Regions from separate parts of the Homo sapiens genome. Here region 2 is linked to region 1. The links are contacts of gene promoters, found by promoter capture Hi-C in human tissues and cell types (Jung and others, 2019). All regions are on one chromosome and are shown on one strand. Each heading gives the region's core, a stretch centred on a gene start or on the middle of the fragment in contact. The rest is flanking DNA. Distances are from core to core; before and after follow the strand shown. Region 1 holds the start of SPRYD7 (SPRY domain containing 7). Region 2 has its middle 46 kb from the start of C13orf42.

Region 1 (2,700 bases), core at 91-2,590:
AAAAATAATTTAAAGATTACTTATGTATTAAGGTTCTGTACTACATTTGGGAGATCTGAGAATTAAAAGTAAATACACACATACAAGGTGATTATATAGTTATCACATTTAGTATGTGTTATACAAAAATACAGTGGGCAGAGTGTTTCCAGAATTATAAGGAAACTGGGCGAGAGAGTTTTATCATAAATATTAAGAAGTGCCTTTTTATTTCAATGCACTGTCCTTTAAACAATCAGAAACGTGTAAAAAATCAAAAGTGCAGAAGTACAGTTAGAATAAAATAATCCACAAAAAGACAGTACTCTAACTGAAATAATTATATTGGGAAATCTCTCCTTCTAGAACCACATTCCAGAAGCATGAAACTACCTGGGAAAAGTCTAAGAAATAATAAGGTGGTGAAAGAGGCTATGATGGGAGAGGAAGAATGTTAGATAAATTATATGGATTTGGAATTAAAAGGATAAAGCAAGATGCAAAGGAGCAAAGTGCTATTTTATTTTTCAACAGTTAGACCTGTTGGGAAGAGGCCAGTCAGATGAAATTACAGTACCTCTCACAATGACTAAGGAGTCGGGCAATGGGAGGTTTTAGTTGAAATGGCAAGTTCTGACCTGAGGTGCGACTTCAGACTTCTGCAGTCTGCCTTGTTTCGACTTTAGGAGGTGAGAGGAAAATTACTTCCAATAATATAGGATTCAACCTATAAATGATGGGGCTCAAGAGACAGGACCGACAGTCAGGGCAGGAGGAGGAGCAAGACCGGACCTAGAAGCATTCTGAAAATGTGTAGGTTTTCACTGGGGCGCGCCAGAAGGGCACTCTCCGCCCCCTCGCCCGAGGACGTGTGACATCTCCGGAGGAAGCCTCCGAGATTCCTGTGAAAATGGGAGGTCCACACGCCCATTCGCGATGACAGACACAGAGAGGGCTGCGCAGCCTTGAACACAGAACCGGGCCCAGGTGGAGTCCGCCGGCTTCTGGAGAGATCTGCGAGACGAAATGGTGTCGGCGCAGCGTCGCCGGCGCGGCGGGGCAGCGTGGGGACCCTCTGACCCTGAAGGTCCCCCTGCCCGCCGCGCCCGGCCCCCGTGAGCCGTTGGGTCTGGGGAAGGGAGGGCCCTTACCCATGTGCTGCGTGTCCAGCTGCACGGCCGGCATCTCCTTCAGAGGGATGTGGCCAGTCCCCCCGTCTCTGCAGCACCGCAGGCAGCACAACACCGAGGTGGCCATCGCGCAGGGACCACCGACTCCGCCGCCGTCCCTAGACCGAGGCGACACTGCCCCCCGCCGCTCAGCTCCGTCTCCTGCCCCCGCCCGAGGTCCGGACTTGTCTATGTGGAGCTCGGAGGCCGGTACAGCGACACCCTAGGCCGGGAGGGCGCAATGCAGGCTGAGCTTAGGCTGGCCTGCGAGGAAGACGCGGAGAATCAAGGGGCCGGGGAGAGACCGGACAGGGCGAGCGGCCGGGCTGGGCCGGGGAGACGGGTGGGGCTAGTGGCGCGCGGAGGCGTGGCAGGGGGCGTGGCGTTGCGGGCCTGCGGATGTGGGACGGCGTGCGCCTGCGCACCAGCTGGTTTTTTCTCCTTGGGCGGTTTCGCGCACGCCCCCAGGGCTGACAGGTGAGTGGGGCTGTCTGTCCCTCAGTACTTCCAGGGGTTTTCCTATGCAGAATTTTTAAAACGCAGCACCCCTTGGTCCCGGCCTCGACATTATTTCTAGGGATGGATTGACAGAAGCGAATCAGTTTGGGGGAAGGGGAGCTAATGGAAATGACTTCCGAGTTTTCCCTCCGCGGGCCCAGGTTGAGCAGGCTTTGCCACCACGGAGAGCCCCAGTCTCCCTGCCGTGGCTGGTTTCCCTCACATGCTAAATAGACTCACGTGGGCCCCAGGAGTAATGCCTGTTAGTGACTGCACTGTGGATGTTCACCGGGGCTCACGCGGGCCCTAATGCATTTTCGGTGCAGAGACGCGCCCTACCTGGCCCATCGGGCTGCGTGGTCCGGGGCGCGTGGGAGGCCGCCCTGGGAGCAGAACGCTGGGGCGGGGTCGGGGGCGATTCTTGACCTGCCTCTTCCAAGCTCCCCCTGTCTGGTGCACTGAGGGTTCCGAGGAATGTGACGGGAACCCAGGAGGCTGCGGGAAGTCTGCTGGGTCCCGAGGGAAGCCTTCGGCTCCTACCGTCCGCTACTTTCTGCTTCCACACGGGAGGCTGTCACCTGTCATCTCCTTCCCCACTTAGATCATCCTTCCGTGGTAGATTTTACATCTTCAGGCCGGGTGCAGTGGCTCACGCCTGTAATCCCAGCACTTTGGGAGGCTGAGGTGGGCGGATCACCTGAGGTCAGGAGTTCAAGACCAGGATGGCCAACATGGTGAAACCCCGTCTCTACTAAAAATACAAAAATTAGCTGGGTGCGGTGGTGCACGCCTGTAATCCCAGCCACTCAGGAGGTTGTGGCACGAGAATCGCTTAAACCCGGGAGGCGGAGGTTACAGTGAGCCTAGATCGCGCCACTGCCCTCCAGCCTGGGCAACAGAGACTCTGTCTCCAAAAAAAAAAAAAAAAAAAAAAAGATACCGCTTGGCATCTGGAAATGTCTGGGACGACCTCTAGAATTAACCTAGCTCAAACCTCTGTTCCCAGATCAGTTTCATCCTGAAGGCTTCCCTAGGGATGGATCATCAAGTCCTG
Region 2 (2,700 bases), core at 57-2,556, 1.1 Mb after region 1:
CTCACTGCTGGATGCCTCTGTGTCCTCAACACCACAGAGATGGTGTGTTAACTATCACATGCACACGCTCGGGTTTTGTATCTGTCAACACACACATATATATATACACACAGGCATGTATGTATGGGTGTGCATGTATTTGTATATACTTATATATATTATGTATGTTTATATGTGGCCATGTACACATATAAATGCATATGTGTGTATGTATATATATATTTTTTTCCTGTCCTTTGTTAAATTGCAAGCTCCTCAGGGTCAGGAAGTAAGTGTCATTTATCTATATTTTGACTAAAGTGCCAAGACACTGTCTGCTACACAGGAGGTATTTAACAAACACTTATCGAGCAAGGAAGTACTGAAATGAAGCCTCAAGTCTCATGAAAATCTTTAAATAACCCGTTATTCAACATCAATCCAATGTAAACAAAGATAGCAATTGTTCAACTTAGCAATCTTTGCAAAAGTATGCCCAATCAAATAAAACATCATGCCCACTGCCCGAGCACTAGAGACAAACTTCTAGTGTGTAACAAGGGAAACTGAGGCAGTGGGGAATTTGAAGTCTGCTGCTAGTTGATAACCACATCACCTACTTCTAGGTCATGACCACCCCGATAGTGTGCCTCTGTTTGATGAATTTAGGGCCATTGAGTCATGTGGTCCAGCATTTGTCTTTGGTGTTCAGCAGTTCCCCAAGCTGGTACCAGAGTTAATCATTTAGAGACCTTGAGCTTATAGATCAGAGAGTGGCCCCCTCACCCTCTACTGATTATAAACATGTCCCTTTCCTGTCCACTGAAATCAGGTGACTTTCTCTGCCCCTGGAGAGAGCAAAAGAGGCAATGTATCCCACACGATGTGTCGAGCATATGCGGGGACCTTGGTGTTTGCTGCCCACACCCAGGTGGAGGGGGATACTTGGTAGGACACACTCCCTACACATTTGAGGGCCTCACTGAAATAAGTAAGAATGGCAAGCCAGCACCAAAGTTCTCTAACCATCTGGAACTAGTGCTGCTCAACCAGTGAGATCAGCAAGCAGGCAGGGACTCTCATTTGCTGGTGACACCCAAATCTTTCAGAGGCTACTTGGGCCATGGCTGCAGCACCCCCAAAAACATCTGCGTTCCAAAGAAGCAATTAAAATGTCTGAAAATGTTAAGGTTTAGCCAAATCTTTCTCCTGTAAAGATGTTTTCACATTCCATATCCAGTCCTACTCACCGTGCCTGCCAGGCATTGGCTGGGGAATGTGGCTTCAAAATAAAATGCAGTCTCAGTAAGCCCAGAGAGGGAGTACAGCTTAGGAGAAAGGGTTTGGGCTCTGGAGCCAGAAGGGTTTCTGTTTCTGTGACTTGTAGCTGTGCAGCTTTGGGTAAATTGCCTAACCTCTCTGAGCCCAGTCTGCTCATGAGCTAAAGTGGACATAATACCGTTTGCTGTGTTGGAGGATGGTTGTTGGGGTTATAGAGTAACGGTTCTGAAGTTAGACCATGAGGGCTCATTGCTGACCCCAAGTCTTATTTGCTGTTTGACTCAAGCCAGATCTTACTCACCCTCAGTTGTCTCATTTGGAAAATGGGGGTGAGAATGGTCCCTTCCTCATAGGGTTTTAGTAAGCATTAAATGAGGTAATACGTGTGAGGTACTTGGCACATAGTAAGCGCTCAGGAAACTGTAGCCTCTTAGATAACAGGCATTTTGAACAATAGGTGCTCAACAAACAGAAGCGGAAGGAAAGTCAGGGCCAAGGGTGCTGAGAGCTGCTCACCATGTTCCTGCCGCAGCTGCTCCTGGGGCCACAGGGATTGAGATGCAGCACCAAGCGCCCGCCCTTCCTGCCAGCCCCTAGTCACTCAGGAGAGAATCCACAGCGTCTCCAGAAGCCTGTCTTGTAGAAATCTGGGCAGTCCACAGTGAAATTAGGAGCTCATCACTAGCCTCCAAGCAAGGAGCACACTGTTGGGTCCTCAGTCACCTGCGGGGTAAAGCATAAGGCCGCCCCCTCTGGTGAGCAAGTGGGACCTGCTGCCTGGCACCCCAAGTCGTGCACACCCCAGATGCTAAGCTCTCAGGAGTTCAGCCTGAAACCTGAAGCTTCTCCCCGAGGTGCCAACGGCACAGAACGCCTTTCTGCAAGCACAGAAAAGCATACACCCCTAAGCTCCTGTAGGAAGACTGCCTTGTAGATGAGGCTGTCTATTGAGTGATCTTTTTAGTGTATCTTTAATTAAACCACGTTGGATGCCATCCAAGAACGGCCTGCCTTGACCAACACTTGGCCCTACAGTGTCATAATGGGAAGTCCCCTGGTGCCTTGAGCCTTATCCTCCATCCCCATCACTGTTCCGTTTCAGGCTCTGGTGGGCTGTTTGCCAGAGGTCTATTTCCTGAGTATTACTTGTGGTCAGAGGTGAGAAATCCAGCCACTAACCAGGTCCAACAAATGTCGCCTGTAGCTGTTCCAACACACATGCTAGCTTTGGTGTAAAAACAGAGAACAAATAAATACATTTAGTAAAATCAAAGGCTGGGGTAAGCCCTCCAGGCAGTGTGGAGGTGTGGGGCACTAGAGGGATGTGACTCATGGTTAAGACAGTCTGTCGAGGACCACAACGCCACAGACTGGGGCCGTCCACTGAAACGAACGTCCAGGCATCGCACGCCCTCCTGGAAGACTTCAGCATCTTTCCCT

The links. The method cuts DNA at HindIII sites, captures the fragments that hold promoters and counts their contacts. A contact is called where the count stands out against the background at its distance.
Region 2: a contact is called between a fragment that was not itself captured here and the fragment with the promoter of SPRYD7 in region 1, in 1 of the 25 tissues and cell types used here (lymphoblastoid cells).

Annotation. Positions count from the first base shown.
Region 1 is chr13:49,935,000-49,937,699 of GRCh38, forward strand. It overlaps SPRYD7 (SPRY domain containing 7), which reads right to left and starts at 1,341. Exons shown (of 5, transcript NM_020456.4): 1 at 1,131-1,341. The coding sequence starts at 1,236. RefSeq lists enhancers at 1,152-1,401, 2,272-2,321 and a silencer at 1,442-1,691. The HindIII fragment of the contact is 7,175 bases long and covers 1-2,700 here.
Region 2 is chr13:51,064,175-51,066,874 of GRCh38, forward strand. It overlaps the pseudogene GUCY1B2. Among named protein-coding and RNA genes, the nearest start is that of C13orf42, 46 kb to the right of the region's middle. The HindIII fragment of the contact is 8,297 bases long and covers 1-2,700 here.